Linked DNA regions of Homo sapiens: regions 1 and 3 are each linked to region 2. Evidence: promoter capture Hi-C in human tissues and cell types (Jung and others, 2019). All regions are on one chromosome and are shown on one strand. Each heading gives the region's core, a stretch centred on a gene start or on the middle of the fragment in contact. The rest is flanking DNA. Distances are from core to core; before and after follow the strand shown.

Region 1 (4,170 bases), core at 1,375-3,874, 210 kb before region 2:
TTTTATTGAGAGTCATTAAGAGACATCACTAGAAAAGAGAATGTTTGTATATCATCTATGAAAACCATTACTTTTTATAATATAAGGATATAATGATAAATGCTCCCTAGGATTTAAGGCTGAAAAAGTTTGTGTCTCTTGAAGAACTTGTATGCTTCTTTCTTACTAAAAAAAGAAATACAAGGTTTGGCTACCAGGAAGCTCACAACTAAATTTAATATCAATTGCTATTACCATTTTAGCAGAGGTTCCTGGTACAATTACTTCTGATCTGTCTCTATTTTTACTGTTCCTACTTTTTGTTTATATTGTAAGCCTCCTTAAATCCTTTTTGGAAGCATGAAGGGTACATATTAAATAACAAGTCGTAAAATGACAGAAATAGGAAAATGGCCTTAGAGGAGGGATGAGAAAGTTCTATTTTAAACTAGTTGGTTAGGGCTGTGTCAGTAATGACTCTGTCAGTGATGTGGGTTTTTTTTTTTTTTGAGACAGAGTCTCACTCTGTCGCCCAGGCTGGAGGGCAGTGGCGCAATCCACTGCAACCTCTGCCTCCTGGGTTCAAGTGATTCTCCTGCCTCAGCCTCCTAAGTAGCTGGAATTACAGGCACACGCCACCACAACCAGCTAATTTTTTGCATTTTTAGTAGTGACAGGGTTTCACCATGTTGGTCAGGCTGGTCTCGAACTCCTGACCTCGTGATCCACCCGCCTCAGCCTCCCAAAGTGCTGGAATTACAGGCGTGAGCCACCACACCCAGCCCCTAAGTCCTGTGGGTTCTATTCCTTAATTTCTCTTGAATCTTTCTGTTTCTCTACTGCCATGCCCCCTTCAAGCCATTCTCATTACAGAGTAAGTAACCTTCCTAAAGTACAAATTTCATCGTGGAATTCTGATGACTCTTCTCAGTCCTCTGGATGAAGAGCAAAATTCCTTAACATAGCTCACAAGGCCCTAAAGGATCTGGCCCATGCCTACTCCCTGCAGGCTTATCAATCTTTAGTCTCCTTCATGCTCTGGAGAATGAAAGTAGACTTGCAGGTCCTAGACCAGGATCTCAATGTCTTTACATACTCAGCCCATCCTGCTCTGTGGACTAACCTTTCTCCTTCTCCTGCTTTTCATCAAGCTAAGGTCTACTTTTCAAACTGTCCTCAGCTTAAACATCATCCCTCCAGGGATGCCTATCCTGATCAACAACTTTGGTTCAGATGTATTACCTTAACACTCTTACACCTTGTTTTAGTCCTTATCACACATTTTTTGTTTGTTTTTGAGACGGAGTCCTGCTCTGTCGCCCAGGCTGGAGTGCAGTGGTACGATCTCGGCTCACTGCAACCTCCTCCTCCCAGGTTCAAGCGATTCTCTGCCTCAGCCTCCTGAGTAGCTGGGACTATAGGCGCACACCACCACGCTTGGCTAATTTTTGTATTTTAATAGAGACAGGGGGTTTTACCATGTTGGCCAGGATGGTCTCGATTTCCTGACCTTGTGATCCACCCGCCTCGGCCTTCCAAAGTGCTGGGATTACAGGCGTGAGCCACTGTGCCCGGCCAAAGCCACTGTGCTCGGCCTATCACACAGTATTTTAACTGTTAACCCAGGCAGTTACCCCACTGGGGCATGGAGTATGTAAGGACAGAGCACTGTTTTTAATATTCTGTTTCCCTAGAGCCTAAAACAACCTATTACCGATGGCATGCTCTGGGTACTCAACACATTTAATAAACGGGTAGATTCAACTAATAAAAATTTAGCAAGTGGCAGCCCAGTCCGGACACCTCACACATAATGTTGAACAAAACAGACCATCTCTAACTTTATACAGTTTACAATGCAATAGAAAAGCATAAGCAAGTAAGCAAACCAAATCTAATTGCAAATTGAAATATGTTCTGTGGAAGAAATAAATGGGGACACTTGTTAGGATAGTCAAGGAAGGGTTATCTTCCTGAGAAAACATTTACACTGAGACCTGAAAGCTGAAAAAGAAGTGGGCTAAGCTCCTCTACTTTTGGAGCGGTTCCTTTCCATGTCTCAGGTGAATAATCCAGCAGTGGGCCAACGAGTATACATCGAGCAACTGTCTACTACTATGTGTGTGCCTCGTGTATGCTGGACGTCAGAAGTACAGTGAAAGATGCAACCACGCAAGTATACGGTAGGTTTCTGCCGTTCTCTGTTCTCTGGAGTGCCTCCGGAGAGCTTCTCCGTCTCAGGCCCCTTTGACCCCATCCAGAGCTCTCCCTTCTAGGACTCCACACTATCCGTTCCCCCGCCTCGCCCCCCGGCTCCGATTCACCCACCCAACTCGAGTATCAGCTCCCAGAGCTCCTCTCTATTCCCCGCCCTCTTCTTCTTTGTCCGGGGTTTCTCCCTTCAGGGCTCCTCTTTGCCTCCTCCCCTCCCTTTTCCCAGGCCCGGATCTTGCCTCTGTGAAACCCCCATAAGTCGTCTGGTAGAACTCATCTTCCTCCTCTGCCTCCAAAAGCCCAGAAAGCCGGTTCCCAGCGGTCTTCCGGGGTGCCCGGCCCCCAGCCAAACTCATACCGCCTACCGAGACTGCGCCGCCACCTGCAGCCCCTCACCAGCTCGGTTTTGGGAGCTCGACGCTCGACATCACTACCTGCGGGTGGCCACCAGCGGCGGAAGTCGGGCGTTTACAGGCAGAAGTAACAGAGTGTCGAGAGACTCCCAGTCCCACCCTCTAAACCCTCTTTACTCTTCAGCCTCTCCTACTCCTGCGCGGATGCTCTAGGCCGCTTGCTCTAGTACCCAGCGATCTCCCTTGCTCAATGAGTCCACTTGGTGGTACGAAGACCCCCATAACCCTAAGTCAACACATTTTATTTTATTTATTTTTATTTTATATATATATATGGTTTTTTTTTTCCGTAGGGACGGAGTCTCGCCTCGCTCTGTCGCCAGACTGGAGTGCAGTGGCACGATCTCGGCTCACTGCAACCTCCGTCCCCCGGGCTGAAGCGATTCTCCTGCCTCAGTCCCCCGAGTAGCTGGGATTACAGGCGCCCGCCACCATGCCCAACTAATTTTTGTATTTTTAGTAGAGACAGCTTTCACCGTGTTGGCCAGGCTGGTCTCGAACTCCTGACCTCAGGTGATCCGCCCGCTTCGGCCTCCCAAAGTGCTGGGATTACAGGCATAAGCCTGCGCCCCCAGCTCACATTTTCTTTTAGAAGAGGTCATTCTCTCCGCTCCAGTCCATTTTCTACACTGCTGCTAGTAGGAAACTTTCTAAAAACCCACGTTTTGCCACTCCTGTCCTCAAACATTTTTAATGGCTCCACATCATCTACAAGATAAAGTCAAAAATCCTTGAGGAAGGAAGCATAGTATTGTGGTTAAAAACACAGCCATAGACATTTATCCAAAGGAAAGGACATAATTCAACCTGAGGAAGCCAATTTAGGAGGAAAAAAAAAAAGGAAATCAGTATATCCAAGAGACGTCTGCACTCCATATTTATGCACCCCCATATTTATTGCAGCACTACTTAGAGTAGCCAAAATAGGAAATCAATCTCTGTGTCCAACAACAGATGAATAAAGGAAATAGGGTGTATATACACAATGGAATACTTTTCAGCCATTAAAAAGAAGAAAATCCTGTCATTTGCAGCAACATGGATGGAACTGGAGGACATGTTAACTGACTTAAGCCACGAACAGAAAGTTAAAACACTGCATGTTCTCACTCATATGTGACGCTTTTAAAAAGTTGATTTCATAGAAGTGAAAGAACAGAGGATACTGGAGGCTGGGAAGAGCAGGGGGAAGGAAGGGACAGGGAAAGATTTGTTAAAAGACACAAAATTGTGGCTCACACCTGTAATCCCAGCACTTTGGGAGGCCGAAGGGGGTGGATCATGAGGTCAGGAGTTCACGACCAGCCTGGCCAAGATGGCGAAACCCCATCTCTACTAAAAATACAAAAATTAGCTGGTCGTGGTGGTGGGCGCCTGTTATCCCAGATACTCGAGAGGCTGAGGCAGAGAATTGCTTGAACTCGGGAGGCGGAGGTTGCAGTGAGCCGAGATCGCGCCATTTGCTCTCCAGCCTGGGAAACAGAGCAAGACTCCGTCTCAGAAAAAAAAAAAAGACAAAATTGGGCCTGGCACAGTGGCTCACACCTGTAATCCCAGCACTTTG
Region 2 (4,047 bases), core at 1,522-4,021:
TCCTTCCTTTCCTTTCCCTCCCTCCCTCTCTCTCTTCTCTTCCTTCCTTCCTTTCCTTTTCCTTCCTTTCCTTTCCCTTCCTTTCTTTCTTCCTTTCTTTTTCTTTCTGTCTGTCTCTCTTTCCTTTCTTTCTTTCCTTCCTTCCTTTCCTTTCCTTCTTTCCTTTCTTTTCTTTCCTTTTTTTGAGACAGCGTTTCGTTAGTTCTGTCACTCAGGCTGGAGTGCAGTGGTGCAATCTTGGCTCACTGCAACCTCTGTCTCCTGGGTTCAAACAAATCTCCTGCCTCAACCTCCCAAGTACCTGGGATTACAGGCGTGTGCCACCACACCCGGCTAATTTTTGTATTTTTTGTAGAGATGGGGTTTCATCACGTTGGCCATGCTGGTCTTGAATTCCTGACCTCAGGTGATCCGCCCATCTAAGTCTCCCAAAGTCCTGGGATTACAGGCATGAGCCACCGCGCCCGGCCTGAGGTGGGCAGATTTCTTGAGCTCAGGAGTTTGAAACTAGCCTGGGCAACATGGTGAGATCTCTCCTGGTCTCTACAAAAAAATACAAAAATTAGGCCGGTCGTGGTGTCTCACGCCTGTAATTCCATCACTTTGGGAGGCTGGGGTGAGAGGATTACCTGAGGTCAGGAGTTTGAGACCAACCTGGCCAGTGTGATGAAACCCCATCTCTACTAAAAATACAACAACAACAACAAAAAAAAAATTAGCTGGGCATGGTTGTGCACCCCTGTAATCCCAGCTACTGAGGAGGCTGAGGCTGGAGAATCGCTTGAACCAGGGAGGCGGAGGCTGCTTTGAGTTGAGATCGTGCCACTGCACTCCAGCCTGTGCAACAGAGCAAGACTCCCTCTCAAAATAAGAAAAAAAGAAAAAAAACAAAAACAAAAATTAGCCGGGTGTGGCATCTGTAGTCCCCAGCTACTCGAGAGGTTGCAGCTGGAGGATCGCTGGAGCCGGGGAGGCAAGGGTCGCAGTGAGCCGAGATCATGCCACTGCACTCCAGCCTGGGTGACAGAGCCAGACCTTGTCTCAAAAAACAAACAAACAAAAGACACCTAAGGACAGTGTTGAGGATGGTATCCTCACCAGTCTCTGTGGGAGGATGGAATCCTAACTTCCATAAATGCCAGCTAGCAGACATCATTGACCTAAGCACATTTACATTGACTAATTCTGTAAATGTTCACTTCCCTGACTCTACTGACCCTCTGTCTCACTGTCCCCTAACCTCATTTTCCCTATAAAATACCCATTACTTGCATACAAATTGCAGTTGAGTTCAGTTCATGCTGAACTGTTTTTCCTTATTGTAGTAGTTATTACTGATTGAAATCTGTCCTTTCCACTTTAGTGTCCGGCTTTGTTTATCTTTGACAAAATTCACCAGTTTGATTCAAGACAGTTTCCAGCCCCTGCTATGGAGTTACACTGAGAAGGAAACCCCTGGAATTTAGTTTCACCCCTACACTTCCAATGGAATTTTTCTGTTTCTTTAGAGGTGGGCAAGGGCCCTTGACAATAAGGAAACTTTCAGACTTGTCTAAGGTCCCACAGAGAGTGCTTGATCCACCTGAGCTATCACACCCCACAGGGTATACACAAGTGTATTCTTTTTTTTTTTTTTTTTTTTTTTTTTTTTGTGACAGGGTCTCGCTCTGTTGCCCAGGCTGGAGTGCAGTGGCGCCACCTTGGCTCACTGCAACCTCCCTCGGGTTCAGGCGATTCTCCCACCTCACCCTCCCAAGTAGCTGGAATTACAGGCCTGGCTAATTTTTTGTTTTGTTTTGTTTTGTAGAGGTGAGGTCTCACCATGTTGCCAAGGCTGGTCTTGAATTCCTGGGTTCAAGTGATCCTCCCGTCTTGGCCTCCCAAAGTTCTGGGATTACAGGCATGAGCCACCGCACCCGGCCCTGATTCCTTTTTTTATTCTAGCTTCAAGATTCAGTTCTACCGTTATCGGCTGTGTGACTGGGTAAATCACTACACCGCAAGCCTCGGTTTCCTATTTACCAAATGGGTCGAATAATGCCTGCCACATGGGGCTGCTCTGAGGAGTACAGATGTAAGAGATCCTGTGTTCACTGATATTTTCATGTGGGCTTTTTGATAATGATACAAAAGGAACATGAGAACTGTGACTTCTAGGCCGGGCGAGGCGGCTTACTCCTGTAATCCCAGCACTTTGGGAGTCCGAGGCAGGCGGATCACCTGAGATCCGGAGTTCGAGACCAGCCTGGCCAACATGGTGAAACCCCATCTCTAGCAAAAATACAAAAAATTAGCCAGGCGTGGTGGCAGGCGCCTGTAATCCCAGCTACTCGGGAGGCTAAGGCACGAGAATCGCTTGAATCTGGGAGGCGGAGGTTGCAGTGAGCCGAGATCGCGCCACTGCATTCCAGCCTGGGGGCCAGAGCGAGACTCCGTCTCAAAAAAATAAAAAATAAAATAAAAAATTGTGACGTCTCACTCAGGATCAGCGTCTTTAAGTGGCCACCTCCCCACCCCACCTTCATGCCTCCCTCCTCCTTGAATCGTGTGTTAGAACGCTGTGATCTGGTCCAAACTCCACGGAGATGCGATGCGATGCGAAGCGATGTTGGGCAATTTCAACTCCCTGTCTCGGTCGCCACCTAGGATTACTGCATGTTCAGCTACGACCTCATCAACATGGCTGCTGGAAGTCGTCTACAGGAAAAAGAAAGAAATGACACTGAAGGATCACTTCCGCTTCCGTTGGCGCAAGCGCTTTCATTTTTTCTGCTACCGTGACTAAGATGGAAGCGTTTTTGGGGTCGCGGTCCGGACTTTGGGCGGGGGGTCCGGCCCCAGGACAGTTTTACCGCATTCCGTCCACTCCCGATTCCTTCATGGATCCGGCGTCTGCACTTTACAGAGGTCCAATCACGCGGACCCAGTAAGTTCTCGGCGCTTTCGTTTGCGTAGCGGGAGGGACCGTGGGGCCTGGTGCTGCCGGCTGGTTTTGAGAGCCCGGGAAGGTGAGGCGGGGACCCCGGGGGCGCGCGAACGGCAGGGGAGCTCAGGGCGCGGAGTCCTGGAGAATGCAGAATAATTGGAAGGAATTATAGAAAATCAGAAGCGCAGCTCAGTGCGCGGAAAGAGGGCGCAGTCCATCCCCCCTCTCAGCTCCCACCGTTCTCACTCTTTAGGAACCCCATGGTGACCGGGACCTCAGTCCTCGGCGTTAAGTTCGAGGGCGGAGTGGTGATTGCCGCAGACATGCTGGGATCCTACGGCTCCTTGGCTCGTTTCCGCAACATCTCTCGCATTATGCGAGTCAACAACAGTACCATGCTGGGTGCCTCTGGCGACTACGCTGATTTCCAGTATTTGAAGCAAGTTCTCGGCCAGATGGTGTAAGTCATCCAGAGAACAGGAGAGTGGTTCCCAAGTAGAGAGGGGAGTCCCCTGTTTTTTATTCCCTTCGATGGGATGGGGGGACTTGTTGCAGCGGGGGACTGGAAGAGTTGTTGGAGGTGGGCGATCTGTGTTTGCAATAAAGTTTTTGGCATTAGGTGTAAAATGGGGGAAGGTGTGGTAACTTCTTTTGGGGATGGGTGGAGACCCCGACTTAATTCTCTCCCTTTTCTCACAACCAATTCCTTTTAAGGATTGATGAGGAGCTTCTGGGAGATGGACACAGCTATAGTCCTAGAGCTATTCATTCATGGCTGACCAGGGCCATGTACAGCCGGCGCTCGAAGATGAACCCTTTGTGGAACACCATGGTCATCGGAGGCTATGCTGATGGAGAGAGGTTCATATGAATACAAATAACTTATTTCCTTTACCACCCAACCTAGTACCTGTGTAGTATCTCTTCTGTCTCTTCTCCCCAAGTGAATCCCACTTTAACTCAGACCCCATGGTCCCCTTCTTCAGCTAAGATGAATCTAAGGTGAAATGAGTTTTGACCCATTGTGTCCTGTTAGCTTCCTCGGTTATGTGGACATGCTTGGTGTAGCCTATGAAGCCCCTTCGCTGGCCACTGGTTATGGTGCATACTTGGCTCAGGTA
Region 3 (4,651 bases), core at 60-2,559, 130 kb before region 2:
CTGATTATGCCCTGCCCTTCACCAGGCCCTTCGTGTATCTATGGAAGAGCAGCGGCAGCGGCAGGAGGAGGAGGCCCGGCGGGCAGCTGCAGCTTCTGCTGCTGAGGCCGGGATTGCTACGACTGGGACTGAAGGTGAAAGAGGTGGAATCCGAAGTCCTGGGACTGCGGGATGCTAAACATTGAAAGCTGGGTGTAGGCACTGCAGGGAGAGTGTGGAGGTCTGACAGGGTAGGAATATGTGGGAGGGCTGGGCTAGGAATGGCCTTGGAGGCTGGCCTGTGTGGATATGGCACCAATTCTACCCTGCTCCTCTTTTCCTTTTCCCAGACTCAGACGATGCCCTGCTGAAGATGACCATCAGCCAGCAAGAGTTTGGCCGCACTGGGCTTCCTGACCTAAGCAGTATGACTGAGGAAGAGCAGATTGCTTATGCCATGCAGATGTCCCTGCAGGGAGCAGGTGAGCCAGAGCCTGGGTGGTGCCTAGGCAGAGGTTGGGGTGAGGAAGTGTAACTGAACAGACTGACCTCTCTTCCTCAGAGTTTGGCCAGGCGGAATCAGCAGACATTGATGCCAGCTCAGCTATGGACACATCTGAGCCAGCCAAGGTGAGACCCAACCCTGCCCCCATCAGGTTTAAAGTCCTTGAATTTAGATCCTCATCCCTCTGGGGCTGGGAGTATTTCTACCATAGCTAAGTCCTTTGAGGAGCAGAGGGAAACACATGGATTTGCATTTCTTACATGTAAACCTTGCTAAGGTAGCAATGCTAATGGTCAGAGTTGGAGAAATGTCCTCTTGTTCTGTAATTTTCCTTTCTTGCTGGTGGGAGCAGCCTGGGCAGTTCTCTAGGATGTCTTCCCAGGAGGGAAAAAAGCGGGTCTGGGAAAAAGAAAAAGGAGAACTGGGTGTCTTGAGAGCAGGAAACCTCAATGTGATGGCATCTGTTTTTCTCCTCAGAGCTCAATTAACAGAGTTCTCAGCAGGCCCCTCTATTTGGTTAGTAATAACTGCATTCATGCTGTATAAAGGATTTTGCTGACTTGTCCTTTCCTTACGTCGACCAGAGGTGCCCAGATCCCCACACAGTCAGAAGGCAGGGGGCCTCTGGCAGCGGCATGCTCCTGTCCTTAACACCTGCTTACTTCCTGCCGCTCCATACCCTCCCTTGAGCTCACACTGCCTGTTTGCAGGAGGAGGATGATTACGACGTGATGCAGGACCCCGAGTTCCTTCAGAGTGTCCTAGAGAACCTCCCAGGTGTGGATCCCAACAATGAAGCCATTCGAAATGCTATGGGCTCCCTGGCCTCCCAGGCCACCAAGGACGGCAAGAAGGACAAGAAGGAGGAAGACAAGAAGTGAGACTGGAGGGAAAGGGTAGCTGAGTCTGCTTAGGGGACTGCATGGGAAGCACGGAATATAGGGTTAGATGTGTGTTATCTGTAACCATTACAGCCTAAATAAAGCTTGGCAACTTTTTTTCCTTTTTTGCTTCAAATATTGATGGTTTTGAGTGTGAGAGAGGGGAGGAGTCCCTGGCCTGAAGGAGAACCTTCCTTGTTGAGTTCTCTATGTCTCTGTTTCCACCTGTCTGGGCCTCCTAACGTGCTGGGATTACAGGCCCAGGAGCCAGGTTTCCATTTCTAATGAACGAAGACCTTATTTAAACCACCTTCTTGCCAATAACTTTTACTCTGCACTCACACAGCTGAACCCCAAGCATGGAATGATACTCAACCTTTTCAGTTTTTTCATGTGGACTTCTGAGGTTCAGCAAGTTTAGGTTATTTGGCCAAGGATATTTAGCTAATGAAGAGGCAGAACCAGGATCAAAATCCAAACTTGTCTCAGACCTGTCTCGCCAGGAGTTGAATCACCACCAAACAGTAGTTTCCCATTGGTCAGCTGCCTTCAGTGACTCTGCTCAGCCCTGCAAGTCAGTTCCTTGTAGCAACTACTATACCTTCCTCTACTCCCCGATCACTCTCAACAGAAGCCTGACATCTTTACAGAGAGTCAAGGCCGTGAGGCAGGAAGTTCTGGCTCCCTCCCTCCTGCCAGCACCTCCCTGCATCAGTTATGCTGTCTCCTGAGTCTCTGCTGTCCTAAACACCCTGCTGGCGTTTTCCTCTCAGTGTACATGCATAAAATCCACTCTACAAGTAACCTTACCTTGAGACTTTATATTATACGGTTTAAATATTATTTTACAAGGAACATCTATTCCCTTTATAATTTTTTTTAAAGTTTTTTTTTTTTTCAGCCAGGTGCGGTGGCTCACACCTGTAATCCCAGCACTTTGGGAGGCCGAGGTGGGCAGATCACAAGGTCAGGAGTTTGAGACCAGCCTGACCAATATGGTGAAACCCCGTCTCTACTAAAAATAGAAAAAAAATTAGCCGGGTGTGGTGGCACACGCCTGTAATTCCAGCTACTCAGGAGGCTGAGGCAGGAGAATTGCTTGAACCCAGGAGGCGGAGGTTGCAGTGAGCTGAGATCATGCCACTGCATTCCAGCCTGGGCGACAGAGGGAGACTCTCAAAAAATAAAAAATTAAAAAATATATATATATATTTTTATTTATTTTAAACAAAGTCTGTGCTCTGTCACCCAGGCTGGGGTGCAGTGGTGTGATCATAGCTCACTGTAGCCTCAACCTCCTAGCCTAAAGGATCCTCCTGCCTCAGCCTCCTGCATAGCTGGGACTAAGGCACACACTACCACGCCCAGCTAATTTTTTTTTTTTTTTTTTGAGATGGAGTCTGTCGCACAGGCTGGAGTGCAGTGGCACTGTCTTGGCTCACTGCAACCTCTGCCCCCCAGGCTCAAGCAGTTCTCATGCCTCAGCCTCGCAAGTAGCTGGGACTATAGGTATGTACCACCATGCCTGGCTAATTTTTAATTTTTTTTATAGATATGCGGTCTATGTTTCCCAGGCTGGTCTTGAACTCCTGGGCTCAAGTGATCCTCCCACCTCGGCCTCCCAAAGTGCTGGGATTATAGGTGTGAGCCACCGTGCCTGGCCTATATAGTTTTAAAAGTTAGATTTGTAATAAAAATTGGTAGGGTCCTGCCCTACCCCTCTGCACTCTTGAGGTCTACTCCCAGAAGTAATCAATTTAACTTCTTTAGCTAGCTCTTCCTGTGCTTACTTCCTTATTCCCAAAGAATGAACTTATATGGCTATTTCTTAATTTTTCCATTTTAGCCATTATCTATACTGTTTACTATAGAATATTATAATTTAGTTTTTTTTTTGTTTTCGAGGCAGAGTTTCGCTCTTGTTGCCCAGGCTAGAGTGCAATGGCACGATCTCTGCTCACTGCAACCTCCGCCTCCTGGGTTCAAGCGATTCTCCTGCCTTAGCCTCCCAAGTAGCTGGGATTACAGGCATGTGCCACCACACCCGTCTAATTTTTTTATTTTTGGTAGAGACGGTTTCATCATCTTGGCCAGGCTGGTCTTGAACTCCTGACCTCGTGATCTACCTGCCTCGGCCTCCTGAAGTGCTGGGATTACAACGCCTGACTAATTTTTATATTTTTTTTGTAGAGACGGGGTTTCGCCAGGTTACCTAGACTGGTCGTGAGCTCAAGCAATCTGCCCACCTCAGCCTCCCAAAGTGCTGGAATTATAGGCCTGAACCACCACACCTAGCATTTTTTTTTTTTTTTTTTTTTTTGAGACGGAGTCTTGCTCTGTCACCCAGGCTGGAGTGCAGTGGCATGATCTTGGCTCACTGCAAGCTCCGCCTCCCGGGTTCACGCCATTCTCCTGCCTCAGCCTCCCGAGTAGCTGGGACTACAGGCGCCCGCCACCACGCCCGGCTAATTTTTTGGATTTTTAGTAGAGATGGGGTTTCACCGTGTTAGCCAGGATGGTCTGGATCTGACCTTGTGATCCGCCCGCCTCGGCCTCCCAAAGTGCTGGGATTACAGGCTTGAGCCACCACCTCCCAAAGTGCTGGGATTACAGGCTTGAGCCACCACGCCCGGCCCATTGTTTTTGTTTTTATTCTTTTACCATGAGAAATAGAAACCTCCTCTCATTGGTCAAATACAGTAGGTAACCTGTTAACCTCACGTGATGGCCTCCTGAGCTTGCTCCAATGTGGATTGGTTGTCCTCGACCTGCTGCAAAGTTTTAGTTCTGGCCCTTCCCTGCACCTTCACCCTGGGACTCACTTATTTCCTGGATGCCATATTTTGGTTTTCCTTTGTTTCATCCTCTGTTTTAGTAGAATTTGTCATCCAGTAGCTTTCTGAGAAAGGAGCACAGCAAGTTTATTTTTTGTGTGTCTGAAAACATCTTGGCAGAGTATAGAATTCTACATTTAAAATAATGTTTCTTTAGAATTTTGAAGGCATTGCCTCATTGTTTTCAGTTTTCTTCTTGTTTGTTTTTTCTTTTTCTCAATGTTTCAGCATCCAGAGGAATGCTTGTTGGTGTTGAGACAGGGTCTCACTTTGTCACCCAGGCTGCAATGCAGTGGCAGGAACACGGCTCAGGCTGACTGCCGCCGCTACCTCTGAGGCTCAAGCAGTCCTCTTGCCTCACTATCTCAACTGTCTAGGACTACAGGTGCATGCCACAACACCCATCTGGTTTTTGTATTTTTTGTAGAGATGGTGGTTTTTGTATTTTTTGT

Evidence for each region. The method cuts DNA at HindIII sites, captures the fragments that hold promoters and counts their contacts. A contact is called where the count stands out against the background at its distance.
Region 1: the fragment with the promoter of VPS72 here is called in contact with the fragment with the promoter of PSMB4 in region 2 in 2 of the 25 tissues and cell types used here (adrenal gland and hippocampus).
Region 3: a fragment that was not itself captured here is called in contact with the fragment with the promoter of PSMB4 in region 2 in 2 of the 25 tissues and cell types used here (lymphoblastoid cells and mesenchymal stem cells).

The regions. Positions count from the first base shown.
Region 1 is chr1:151,187,573-151,191,742 of GRCh38, forward strand. It overlaps VPS72 (vacuolar protein sorting 72 homolog), which reads right to left and starts at 2,625. Exons shown (of 6, transcript NM_005997.3): 1 at 2,433-2,625. The coding sequence starts at 2,549. RefSeq lists enhancers at 2,600-2,669, 2,710-2,769. The HindIII fragment of the contact is 20,238 bases long and covers 1-4,170 here.
Region 2 is chr1:151,396,802-151,400,848 of GRCh38, forward strand. PSMB4 (proteasome 20S subunit beta 4) reads left to right here and starts at 2,772. Exons shown (of 7, transcript NM_002796.3): 1 at 2,772-2,926; 2 at 3,180-3,386; 3 at 3,641-3,787; 4 at 3,963-4,044. The coding sequence starts at 2,787. RefSeq lists enhancers at 2,129-2,851, 2,452-2,501, 2,852-3,573 and a silencer at 3,342-3,499. The HindIII fragment of the contact is 13,788 bases long and covers 1-4,047 here.
Region 3 is chr1:151,265,979-151,270,629 of GRCh38, forward strand. It overlaps PSMD4 (proteasome 26S subunit ubiquitin receptor, non-ATPase 4), which reads left to right. Exons shown (of 10, transcript NM_002810.4): 7 at 26-134; 8 at 330-461; 9 at 542-609; 10 at 1,195-1,501. The coding sequence ends at 1,365. Among named protein-coding and RNA genes, the nearest start is that of PSMD4, 14 kb to the left of the region's middle. The HindIII fragment of the contact is 5,567 bases long and covers 1-4,093 here.